Linked DNA regions of Homo sapiens: all the other regions are linked to region 2. Evidence: promoter capture Hi-C in 16 types of primary human blood cells and fetal thymus (Javierre and others, 2016). All regions are on one chromosome and are shown on one strand. Each heading gives the region's core, a stretch centred on a gene start or on the middle of the fragment in contact. The rest is flanking DNA. Distances are from core to core; before and after follow the strand shown. Region 1 has its middle 130 kb from the start of LAMA2. Region 2 holds the start of KIAA0408. Region 3 overlaps LAMA2 (laminin subunit alpha 2). Region 4 has its middle 160 kb from the start of LAMA2.

Region 1 (3,283 bases), core at 673-3,172, 1.3 Mb after region 2:
TCAATAGAATGACACCTTAAAAATGCTACAGAAAAATTGCCTACCTGAATTCTATATCAAGCAAATAACCCTCCAAAAATGTAGACAAAATAATTAATGACATTTTCAGAAAAACAAAGAATGAGAAGTCACCACCAGCAGATCTGAATGAACACAAACACTTAAGAAATTCCTCAGGCAGAAGTAAAATAATTTGAGATTGAAACACGTAAATTCAAGAGGTAAAGATAAATATGTGGATAAATCCAATCACATACTATTCTTAAAACAATAATAGTAATTATTTGTAGTTGTTAAAATATGTGAAAAATTAAAATACACAGCAATACAAAATATCATAGGGGGCTAATAAAAAATTTATACTACTATATCAACATTCTGACTTTTTCTAACCTTTCATCTAGTGCTGCAAGCTCTATGACTTTCAATGTATTGATGTTGACAGTTTTACCCAATCTTTTGCCATTGCCTAATAGACTCTTGCATATTTTCCATTTCTGTTATCAATTTCTTCATTGTCTACTACCCGATCACTAGGCCAGTGTGACACATGTAAGGCATTTTTCAAAGGATGTATCCCACTTCAAATTACCAATATCTACATTAGTTAAGATAATATCAGAAGCTATAAAATTTAGGCCGGTGTGGTGGCTCACGCCTTTAATTCCAGCACTTTGGGAGGCTGAGGTGGGTGGATCACCTGAGGTCAGGAGTTCGAGATCAGCTTGGCCAACATGACAAAACCTTGTCTCTAATAAAAATACAAAAATTAGCTGAGCATGGTGGCACGCCCCTGTAATCCCAGCTACTTGGGAGGCTGAGAATCAGCAGGAGAATCAACAGGAGAATCGGTTGAACCCAGGAGGTGGAGGTTGCAGCAAGCCAAGATCCCTCCACTGCCCTCCAGCCTGGGTGACAGACTGAGACTCTGCCAAAAAAAAAAAAAAAAAAAAAAAATAGAGAAGCTATAAAATTTAGAAAGAAACAAAGCAAAATATTGTTTCTTTTGGTGAGTTTATGTAAGTAGAGATTTTTTTTCTTTTTTGCTCAAGTAATAGTTTAATATAGGTGTTCTTGGTTGATAAGTAGCCTTGTATCCAGTGATTCAAGACCTTAAACTCTTTCCATTCTGTATCTTCAATATCCTTTAGAACCTTGAAGTCCTCTGAATTTATCTGGCAGGTCAGAAAAGAGTGAGAATAAACCAGAGCTGTTGTTTCTCAGCCTGAAGTGGCATACATCACTTTTATTCACAAAGGATTGGAATTGTAGACTTTGCATAGACAGCTGCTTCCCAATAGAAATGCTTACATTCCTGAGAGAAATCATGAATTTTTGTTGGCCAGTTAATCAATTCTGTCACTAAAGGTTTTTTGAATGAATAAAATAATCTGATGGTTTTAAAATTTATAAACAAAGCTTACCTCCTATCATAATAACCTTATAATGCATTGATAATTAAATCAACTTGAAAAGATATCTATGGTACGGGGAGGGAAATGTCCTGTATTTTGTGCTATTATATAAAATATTTCCGTTAAATTACTCATCTGGGAGTACATACCACTAAAATAAGAAGCATGAGTTGAAAAGTCAATGATACAGCCGCAATTATATAATATATTTTGAAAAAATAGATACATTTTACTTGAGAGAAATAGTTTGTATTTTAATCTGTCTACAGTGAATTTAAGTTAGTTAAAGACATTAGAAATTAAGGTATTAGTGAGAGTGTTTTATTTTACTAAGTTTCATAAATGATGATTGTTGTTTATGACAGTTGTTTGAAATGACCTCCCTTAACTGCTGTTTTTTCCCTTTGCATTTAGATATTTGCTCTTTTATATGTGGAACTTAAATCTATAAGGCACAAGGTTTATTCACTTAAGTTCCTGTTCAAAAGGAACTTTTTGGTATTTTAATTTTGCCTTCAACAGCAATGAGTCCTGAAGTCACACAAACTTTAAAGATTTAGGTTAGTCTTTTGAAACTCACTTCTCTTAAACATGGATGGGGTATGAAGCAAATAAAAATGTTCATATTTAAAGCAATTGTGCGGAACCGCTTAATTTCTCAAAATCACTTATCTCTCTACTTTAACAGTGGGAAAAACAAATGATAATTGTGGTCCTCAAATTTGTGACCTAAACCCATACCTCCAAGGGATAGAGATGGTTATTTTGACAATATAAATTCAAACTCACAGACTCTTGCATACGTTAGAAACACGCTATAGTATCAAGCAATTGATTGGAAAACAAATTTTGTGAAATGTGATAATATAACACAGGAAAATATGCCTGTAATAGTAAATCTAAATTAAATATATACCCTTGATAATTCATATTAACCATTTAATATAGATACTACTTTTGTGTTTTAATTTACAAGTAGCAACATTTAAAACAATTACATTCATCTATTTGAAGCTTAGCATCAGATGAGGTGGCCATTTAGAAACTGCTCAATCTGATAGACTAAGCTTATGCCTTTGATAGTTTTCTGAGCCCATTTAGATTTAATGAAAATATCTTACCAATTGTCTAATTTTTGAAATTTTTATTAAATAAGAGCTGAAAAATTGTGCCTATAAAGTGCAGGATTATTCACTCAAGTTGAGTTCCTATTCAAAAGGCACCTTCCAATATGACCCAATAAAAACATCACTAAAACATTTTAAATATCATATTAAATGCTAATTAGATCTAGTCAAATATATATTAAATTTTTGTTACAATTCATTTTGTCCTTGGTTATTATTGAATGAAGCAGTTGCATTTTTTAGCTTGGTAGCAAATGAATTATTTCCAACTTTACAATAATCATTAAAACTGCAAATAATCTGTTGATTTTCCTTTTGTTTGATACAGGTTTTTAATTTAGATTTAACAATGGAGATTTTCAATAGAGGAAGTAGATGAAGACCTACCTTTGAGATATTTATTTTGCCTTCAGGGCCAACACTAGAAAAATTAACATATACATCTTATTGCCAGAATCAAGAAAACTTTGGTCTTTGCAAAGATTTAAATTACTTGAGAGCAACAATTATGTGTTAGATAATTTTATAGTCTGCAGCTGTGCCAAAGGAAGTGCGGTGGGAAGCAAGGGACATAGAGGCAGAGGAAGGGCAAGGAGAATCCCATGCCATCAGAACCAGGGAAGTGAATAAGAAATTGCCTTGTGGTAGCCTCTCACAACATCATTCACCTCAGTGAACACAGACTATCTTTCTGTTTGTTAATTCTCAGAAAAATTTAGTAGTTTTCATTGTGTGGGACTG
Region 2 (3,226 bases), core at 144-2,643:
ACATATCACTTTTCACATAATTAAAGATTTTTCATTTATAAGAGGTTACATATTCCAATAGAAATGCCACACACAGTAGGTACTGCTAATCTCACAATTCCTAGAAGACTCATTTGGCCTGAAGATGTTTTGCTTCTGCTTAACTTTGATGGATTAGGAATTCCCCAGCTTATAACCTATCAGAGTAATGTACCATTTACCTCCTAAATTCTCTATCCCTTTCTCCAGGCTATTATAATCACTTGAATTATTTCAATGAATTAATAAATCTCATTCCTCTCTATTGTTCACTTGCAATTGAATCTTTCCAAAGACCACCATGATTTGATTTTGTTAGAGTAAAAGGGAAATTTTTTTCATTGCTGTGTATTGCTGATTTAGCACATTCCTCATGCTCCAACAAGGTCAAAGAGACACTACCACATGCAATTCCGAATGAATCAACTTTACCGTTTCATTTAATTATCTTCTTCCTTGTTTTCTTTACAGTTATTTACTCAAATTAGAAAACATCCAAGCTGTATGCACACTGATTTTACTTATAAAATGCAAACTTTAAAAGCAAACATTTGGTTTGAGTAAACAAATGTCTAAAACTAACCATCGTGAACAAAAGACATAGTGGTAAGTTTCCCTCCTAAACGTAGATTATTCAATTATGAATGGCATAGACTTCAGCTCAAATTACAGAAACACTAACTCTACAGTGAGTCCACCACCACCTTAGATAAAACTAAAATTTATTTTTCACCGCAATTTTCAAATACCAAGTCTCCAGGATTGTGACCTTTAATTTGCAAATGTTAAAAGTCTTTATATGAATAAAAAAAATCACATTTGAATAAATATACTTAGTGAAAATCAATGATGGGCAAAGTGCTTTTCAAACAACTGAGAAGCAGTGTTGGAAAAACAGTCTCAAAGAGCGGATGGTACTGTCAGTCCACAGTTGGGAAATCCACCCTGAGCAGCTGAACAGCCTTTTTCCTAGGAGTCAGTACAATCTGTTATGCACCCCGCCCACTGTTTTTAAGCCCAGACACAGACAACAGCAGAGACAGATGTTGAAATTACACTCCACTTAAACAGTATCCATAGTTTAAAACATCTCAACAGCAGCCCCTTTGTATCCTGCCATAATTAGTCACTTGCTTGTAAACTTGCCGGAAAGAAACATACCTTTCACACTGGGGAGAAATCCTATGGATGCTCGACCACTGGTCAATTAGCAGTGGAAGAAAGTGGATGGCTAGCTGTCTTAAAGAGAAAAGTCTCAGCTCGGTGAATCTCGATTCTTTACAAGAAAAGGGGATGCAAAATAAGTCCAACCATTCCACAGAGCAGTACTGACAAGTCCCTTTGAAACCTTCACCACTTTTACAAGTCAAAAAGCTGCTCAGCTTAGTGTCACAGCAGCAGCTGAGACTACTGTGACGTCAGTTACTTGGAGGCGGCCTTCAAGCCACCTCTTCCAACCAGAGCTCTGTAACTTTAGAGCAGCTCATGCTCTGGGTAAACAACTCCAGGTCCAGGACATTTTTAGCTTTTATAATGGAGCCCAGTATTTTCAAACTTGCCAAAAGAGCTGGTTGTTAACATCATACAATGACAATGGCCAATTTTAGATTTATTTTATTAGGAAAGTAAACTCATTTTTTTATAGGCAAGAATTATCTCCCTCCTTCCATAATTCTTTCTCCTTCTCAGCTGGTGGCAGGATGTACTCTGCTGCACCTTTAGAAGTTTGCATCTGGATGTGGCAGAACAATATGTGTAGCATAATTATATATATTATGCACTCTCAAAAGATCTGTGAAAGTTATCAAACTTCTATCTTCAAATAAAATAGAAATGGAACATAAAGTCCAACCTCTTAGCTCTCTGTGATTCTGACAGTGTGTTGCTTTTATCTACAGTAGTAGCGATGTCTTTACGTTAGAGAAAATCAGAGCCCATGGGAAAGGATGAGATTTCTTATTGTGGGAGGACAAAACACACACACACACACACCCCAAAAATGAGATACCTATGGGCTTATTTTCCACTAAAGTGTGCTGCAGCCATAGGAAGAGAAAGCAGCCTAAGTGTATGGAAAAGCTCTCTAAATCATGATCAAATCAGCCTGTTCTGAAATGCTAGGAGATCTTGCCTCCCCAGCGACATTTTCAGGTTTATTGTGGCTTTGTACACACATGCATCTGATGATATTTGGTTTAATTTAGTCAAAAAAGTCTCTAGAGCAATTTTTTGCCTAACTTAGCAAATACACAAGTTTAAACAATAAGGTCTTATCTTCAAGTCTGAAGAGCTTCCCTGGTGTGGTCTTTAAAGTAATACATATTCACTCACATTATTTTCACCTGCTTCCAGATAAACATTTCATGAGGAGCTAAAGTTTAGTAATAGTAACCTGCTCACAGTAGGACTTTAATACATGTAGGACAATCAAATGAAACCATACTCTGTGTCTGGAAAGCCTGACATCATAATCTCAACAGCAATAACAACAATAACAGTGATAGTTATAGTAATAATAGTGATTATTCACTGAGGGGCAACCCTCTGCAAGGTTCTGTGCTAAGTACTTTGAACAGACCTTTATCTGAGTTCACCCTCAGAGCAATTCTGTCTCTAGATACTGATAATCTGATCTTACTGATAAAACCCAAGCAAGGCTCATTGTGGTAAAGCATCATGCAAAAGTTCATAGAAATGCACCCATGTGGAGGAAACGGGTTTGAACTGTTTTGTCTGATTGCAAACCATGGAATTTTGTCATAGAGATCTAAGTTTCAATTCTGCTGCCACCACTTATCTGTGTGATCTTGCAGACCCTGATTCTTCCTTAAAGACATAATTATATTTACTTTAAGAGGCCATAAGAATATGAGGGAATATATATAGCGCCAAGCACACAATAAAGGGTAGCTCATGTCTGCCTCCATGCTTATGAGGCTAGGAAGAAGATTCTTTGAGAGAGGGAAAGGGAGGAGGGAGTTGCACAAAAACATCAATACAGAATTGTCTTAACATTGTTTCTGGCCGGGTGTGGTTGCTCACACCTGTAATCCCAGCACTTCTGGAGGCGGAGGCAGGTGGATCACATGGGGTCAGGAGTTCGAGACAAGCCTGGCCAACATGGTGAAACCCTGTGTCTACTAAAAATAAAAAAATTAGCCGGCTGTGGTGGCTCAGGCCTGTAATCCCAGCTACTAGGGAGGCTGAG
Region 3 (3,137 bases), core at 196-2,695, 1.9 Mb after region 2:
AGGTATCTGAATAGTCATTCTTGTTGATCGGACAGTCTCTGCCTCTGCAATCACAAGATAGTTCTCTTTCTGTCTCTAAACCATTGTTTTTAATGTATTCTCCTGTTCCTCACACATCTGTGAGGTTTTCTATCTTGTTCTCACATTCAGAAGTTTTCTTCCGGCCAACCCCAACCTCTTCCCTCTTCCCCTCTTCCCCTCTCTCTTCTCTCCTAACATTCTACCTCCCTGATCTTCTCACTATTTCATGTACTTGGGCACATGCCATGCTCAAACATTAACCCTTGCCATTCTCTTTGTCCAAAGTGTTTTGATACCCTTCTCTCACAAAAATATTAGCCCACAAATATTTACTGAATATTAACTGTGTACAAGACCCTTTCCTAGGCACCATAACCAAGGTGTTTAAGGTCCCTTCTTTAACGAGGAAGAAAGAATATATAAATAAATTAAGTAATAATGTAGCCCAAACAGGCATAAGTGTTAAGAAAGCAAAGGAAATGCAGTAGTGACTGGCGCAGGGTATAGGGCTGGGGGTGGTGGGGAGTTTCAGGTAACAGTAATTTTAGAATCATCAGGGACTTGCTCTCTGAAAAAGTGACACTTGAGCACTTGACCTGAACACCTAGGAACCAGGTGGGAGAAGACCAAGGGAGAAGAATTCTAGGTAGAGAAGACAGCAAGCAAAAGGACCTCTTCCAAATCCTTGCTCCCTTGAAGATTGAGCATCCCTATAATTTATCACCTGGTCCAGTGGTTTTATCCTTTGGCTACATGGTTTTTCAATTACTGGAATATTTTTAAAATACAGTGGTTCACGCCTATGATCCCAGCACTTGGGGAAGCTGAGGTGGGAGGATCACTTGAGGCCAGGAGTCTGACATCAGCCAGGGCAACACAGCAAGACCCCATCTCTATGTTAAAAAACTAGCTGGATGTGGTGGCATGTGCCTGTAGTCTCAACCACTCGGGAGGCTGAGGCAGGAGGATCACTTTAGCCCAGGAGTTTGAGGCCGCAGTGAGTCATGATCACACCACTGTACTCCAGCATGGGTGGCAGAGCAAGACCCTGTCTCAGAAAAAAATAAAAATAGAAATACTGATGGTTAGACCTTACCACAGACCCATCAAAAATCATATTCTGTGGTGGTGAGGAGGGAAAGAGCCCAGGCATCTGTATTTTATAAATGTTCATGTGATTCCAATGGGCAGCCAAAGGTGAGAACCACTGATCCACACCAATGTTGTCACATTCTAATGTGCAGAGATAATGTGGGACGCAGATTCTGATTTCCTAGATCTGGGGTAGAGCCCGATTATACATTTCTAATAAGCTTCCAGGTGGTGCCAAAACTGTTGGTCTGATTGCTACTCAAAGTGTGGTGCACAGACCAACAGTAGCAATATCACCTGGGAGCTTGTTAGAAAAGCACATTCTCAGTCAGAGACTAAGAGAAACCAGGTGATCAAATCACCTCCTGATTCAGAAATACTAGGGGGTGTGGACCAGCCCTCTAGGATTTCCGAAAGTCCTACTGGTGGTTCTGAGGCCCACTAAAGCTTGAGAACCAGACTGTGGATCTTGGTGTTTAGACACAGTCAATTTGGCACTTAACTGAGTTCTATGTTGTGTTTTCTCTAATTGTTTAATGTGGACAAGTCTGTTGAAGTTTGCATTGAACGGGGCTATGAAGCCAAAATAATCTTTTACTTGGTTTCCATGCAGTGCAAATTTGGTTTCATTCTGGCTAGGAGAAGAGTAAGAGATATAGCCCTAGTTCCAGACTTCTGCTCTGGCCTCCAAAGCCTCTTTGTTCATTCAGCTTGTGAAGCATCAGGAGCTTGCAAAGCCCCTGCAGGTGACGCTCTACAGTTGTCACCTGCAAGAAGCTGCAGGTGTCACCTGCAAGAAGCTGATTTATTAAAAGCCCTGCCAGGGCAGTTTAATCCCTGTGAAGTGATATTGTAACTCACCTCTAGCTGCTGTCCTATCAAAAAATCACTCTCCGTCCTCCTTCTCTTTGTTTACAAGCACCAGTTAATGGTTTTCTCTCCATTAAGCAGCTCAGGGGACTGCTGTTTAGAGACCTAATTGAATTCTTGCCAAGTTTGGGCATGATCCAGAGCTGCTCCAATTCTCGGTATTTTCCATGCTATGTATTTTCCCCTATTCTAACATGTATATAGCATTGATACCTCTATCTGCAGAATGTAAGAAATTGTAACTGTATACATGAGAGTATATTATAAATGCAGTAGTTCCTGCTCCTTGGCGTGCAGATACACCTCATTACTCTGCAATGCAAAACTAAAAATATACATGTTTTTTAAATCTGCTAAAAGATTCAATATATGTTAATTTTGGAAATTATACGACTATTTATGAGATCTATTCCATAATGAAGAGTCAACAATCCATTTGTCTCTCTACCAATTCTACCACCTATCCTGGCCCCTACCACCAAATTTGAATAGCACCTCTTTGATGGCCAAAAATATTATGGTGAGTGTATTAGTCCATTTTCGTATTGCTATAAAGAAATGCCTGAAGCTCGGCAATTTGTAAAGAAAAGAGGTATAATTGGCTCATGGTTCCATCAGGCTGTACAGGAAGCATGGCTGGGGTGGCCTCAGGGAACTTTCACTCATGGCAGAAGGCAAAGCTGGAGCAGGCATCTTCACACAGGCAGAGCAGGAGGAAGTGGGGGCTGGAGGTGGCACACACTTTTAAATAACCAGGTCTTATGAGAACTCTGTCATGAGAACATCACTAGGGCGGTGGTGCTAAGCCATTAAAACCACTCCAGTGATTCAATACCTCCCACGAGGCCCCATATCCAGTATTGGGGATGACATTTCAATATGAGATTTGGATGGGGACACAGATCCAAACCATATCTGGTAGAATATTAGCATTCTTGGCTACTTAAAGAATATAGTTTTTCTAGCCTTTAGCAATTATTTATCTATAAGACTGAAAGAGGTTAATCATCAAAGTAGGGATTTGTGAGACTGCATCTAATCATGGGTGGTAATAGACTGAAGGGATAAAGAGGAACAGTTGGCAAATAAATAAGTCAATAAATATTATCATAAGAAAACACTATAGAAAGAAAAGTTATTTTTATTTTGACTTT
Region 4 (3,235 bases), core at 248-2,747, 1.3 Mb after region 2:
ATATTCTTCCCTTATTTCTCTTTCGCCCCTCTTTTTAATACAAATGATGGAGGGAGTATCGAAGCTGTCCCTAAAGAGGTCACAATTAAGCAGAAACCTGAAAGAAATGATTGAGCATATCAGGTAAGGATCTGGGGAAAGAAGATTCCAGGCAAAGTAAACAGTAATTGCCAAGTCCTTCAGATGGTAGCAAGCTTGTACTTCAGGGAGAATAAGCTGGACTGTGTTGTCTGCATGGAGGGTAAAGAGGAGATTGCGGCAGAGCAGGATGGGAAGGTAGGAGGGACCAAACCAAGGAGAGTAATCTAACCCATGGGAAGTTTGGAATTTATTCTAAAGTTGATGCAAATCTATTATAGAGTTTTGTGGAGAGCATGCTATGAAATATTCATATTCTAAAATGACCGTGTGGATGCTCTGTTGGGATTTTTCAATAGGCAAGTATAAATAAGCAGGGAAGATATTTAGTGATCTTGGAAAAAGATGAAAAATCTCCATACGAAAGCTGTAAAAACACTTTCCTAAACTGCCAGTGACATTGCAAATCGAAATTACAGATTACTTAGAAATTAATGACATTAAGGTTACTATATATTAAAACCTATAGAATATAAGCATAGTGGTACTTGGTGGGGGGACATTCATAACAGGAGGTGTATTTTTTTTTCAATGTTGAAGGTAAGTAACTAAAAAGAAACCAAACAAAAGTATAAGGATTAACAAAGTAAGGTTAAATAATTTGGTAGAAAGGATGAAACAAACTATAAACAGGAATTAAATATAAATACAATTAAAATTGGCAAATTTGAAGAAGAATAAGAGAAGATGCATGAATACCTGTTGTAGGTAACTCTTGTGAGGGTGGTTCAGCTCAAAATTCCACCTTTTCTGGGACTGCTTTCTATTGTATAGCAACTGATGCTTGGTAGCCCCATGTATGATATGTAGTCCTATCCAAGTAACTGTGATTCATAGAGGAAGGATTAGTGAACTCACCTCAAACTGGTGGTCCAGTTTGGGTGAGTTTTTCCTGGAAATTTGACATTTAAAATTGTTAAGAAAAAGAGAGTGTTTAAAGCACAGAGCAGTGGTCATCTGGGGATGTAACTCCAAATGTTACTTGCATTCATAGGTATTTTAGCAAGCTTGTCCAACCTGCAGCCCATGGGCCATCTGCAGCCCTGGATGGCTTTGAATGTGGTCCAACACAAATTTGTAAACTTTCTTAAAACATTATGAGATGATTTTGTGATTTTTTTTTTTAAAGCTCATCAGCTATCATTAGTGTATTTTTTGTGTGGCCCAAGACAATTCTTCCAATTTGGCCCAGGGAAGCCAAAAGATTGGACACCTCTGCCAGGGAGTTTCTATATTCACATTATTCATACGTTCTTTAGCCTAAAATCCATCTGTTTGAAAGGAGTTCAGTTTTTTAAAAATATGCTTTTCTCACTTTCATTTTCATAGTAACCTTTTTCTTCTTTACAAGAGAGAGGCATATGCCTCCATCAGTATTCTTGAGTATTACAATGGTGCATTGTATTAGTGTGTAAAACTTAACCAGAATGCCAAACAATGGACAAATAGAAATACCGATGTTGGTGCTGAGAAAGTGAATGCCTAATGATTGGGTAACAAATCCTCTTGCAAATCAGGGGATTTCTTTTTCACCGAATTAAATAAAATTTAAAGAGAACCTAATAGAATTTCTATTGATTAATCTTTAAAAATAATTTTTGAAGAAATATCGCTAAGTAATTTTTGTCATATACCCAATAATGAATTCAAAGAACTGAATACGATTGCTATATCAAAACTCCCTCTAGGACCTATTGTTACCTTATGTGAACAAGCTTTCTCAGCACTTGCATCTATGACAATGAAAATAGGGATTATATGGATGCTGAACTATATTTCAATTGACAATAATAACATTCATTGATGAATATGTGAATTAATAGAAAAAATAAGAGAAATCAGTAAAGCTTCAGTTCCATCTATTTCATTAAGAAAAACATTTTCAAGTAAAGTTTACATTTTCATGATTGAAAATCATCAACATTTGCAAATTTGTTGTTTAAGTCACCTGCATACAACTAATAATTATAGAAATAATTTAGTCCAGAAAAAAGTAATTCAATACTTAGAAACTTATAGTCAAAGGAAATTAAACTTTAAGTTTGTATAGTTTTCTTATAAAAATATGTTAAAAGATAATAGAAGATGCCCAAACATAAAAATATGTATTAGCTTAGTATAAAGTTTTATAGGGCAAGTGAAAGATAAATAAAAAGAAAAGAATGGTGTAAAATTTTTACTTAGAAGAGCCTTTTTAAAAATGGATTGTAGTGGGTGTCAAATTATTATGGTATTTAGATTCCCACTACATACAATTTAAAGTGACATGACAGTTTTATTTTTAACGTTACATATTTACAATAAGAAAAAAGGTATCTTTTGTAACTTCCTATATTTATAATGAAAATTTTGATTCTCAACCTAAAAATTCTTATGTAGATATATAAGAAAATGTCTGGGGACTTGTTCTAGAGAGAAGACCTATCCCTGAAACTTGTGCTGCAGAGGTCTTACAAAAGAACTTCTTCCTTTCACAAAGTAAAAGAGTTAGATTTGCAATTGAAAGAACCTAAAGAATTGCCAGCTTTTTGTTGGTATGAGTTAAGAACACAGGCTTTGAGTTCGAACTCTTATTAGGCCACTTGTTCTCTGTCTGATATCGGACAAGTAACATAATGATTTACCACTCAATTTCCTCATCTGAAAAATGGGAAAAAAATGTGGTACCTATCTCAAAAGGGTATTTTGAGAGTTAAATTAATACAGTGCCTGACATAGAGATCCGAAATAGAAGTATTGTTATTATGATAAAGAAATGGACTCTAAAAATATGAACAGCAGAGAAAACATTAGAATATTTTAAACAAGTGTTTGACAAAACTGAAAAACTGGATTGTTGAATTTGCCTTTTAGAAAATACGTATACTGATTTTGACTCATCTGAAGAAGAAAACCTGAACACAGTAATAATTATAGAAGAAACCAGCATCTAAGCAAGTTACCAGGATTATGTGATTTTATGACCAGGCTCTTCTGAACCTTTAGGCAAGGGAAAATTCTTAAGTTTTTAATAACTGCTTCTGAAAACAGGATAAGATGGAAATCTTATTGCTATGTTGACACTAGCAAAACACTGATAAGCTAAACCTGACCCAGA

Evidence for each region. Contacts are between HindIII fragments. The CHiCAGO score rates a contact against its expected background, and 5 or more counts as called.
Region 1: a contact is called between a fragment that was not itself captured here and the fragment with the promoter of KIAA0408 in region 2, in 1 of 17 cell types (naive CD8 T cells). The highest score is 5.4, in naive CD8 T cells.
Region 3: a contact is called between a fragment that was not itself captured here and the fragment with the promoter of KIAA0408 in region 2, in 3 of 17 cell types (naive CD8 T cells, non-activated CD4 T cells and total CD4 T cells). The highest score is 10.5, in naive CD8 T cells.
Region 4: a contact is called between a fragment that was not itself captured here and the fragment with the promoter of KIAA0408 in region 2, in 1 of 17 cell types (naive CD8 T cells). The highest score is 5.3, in naive CD8 T cells.

The regions. Positions count from the first base shown.
Region 1 is chr6:128,748,784-128,752,066 of GRCh38, forward strand. No RefSeq gene overlaps it. Among named protein-coding and RNA genes, the nearest start is that of LAMA2, 130 kb to the right of the region's middle. The HindIII fragment of the contact is 1,010 bases long and covers 1,418-2,427 here.
Region 2 is chr6:127,457,996-127,461,221 of GRCh38, forward strand. KIAA0408 reads right to left here and starts at 1,394. Exons shown (of 6, transcript NM_014702.5): 1 at 1,180-1,394. The region is part of intron 7 of SOGA3-KIAA0408 (SOGA3-KIAA0408 readthrough); the gene reads right to left. The HindIII fragment of the contact is 12,466 bases long and covers 1-3,226 here.
Region 3 is chr6:129,362,228-129,365,364 of GRCh38, forward strand. The region is part of intron 32 of LAMA2 (laminin subunit alpha 2); the gene reads left to right. Among named protein-coding and RNA genes, the nearest start is that of ARHGAP18, 350 kb to the right of the region's middle. The HindIII fragment of the contact is 226 bases long and covers 1,333-1,558 here.
Region 4 is chr6:128,718,448-128,721,682 of GRCh38, forward strand. No RefSeq gene overlaps it. Among named protein-coding and RNA genes, the nearest start is that of LAMA2, 160 kb to the right of the region's middle. The HindIII fragment of the contact is 708 bases long and covers 1,144-1,851 here.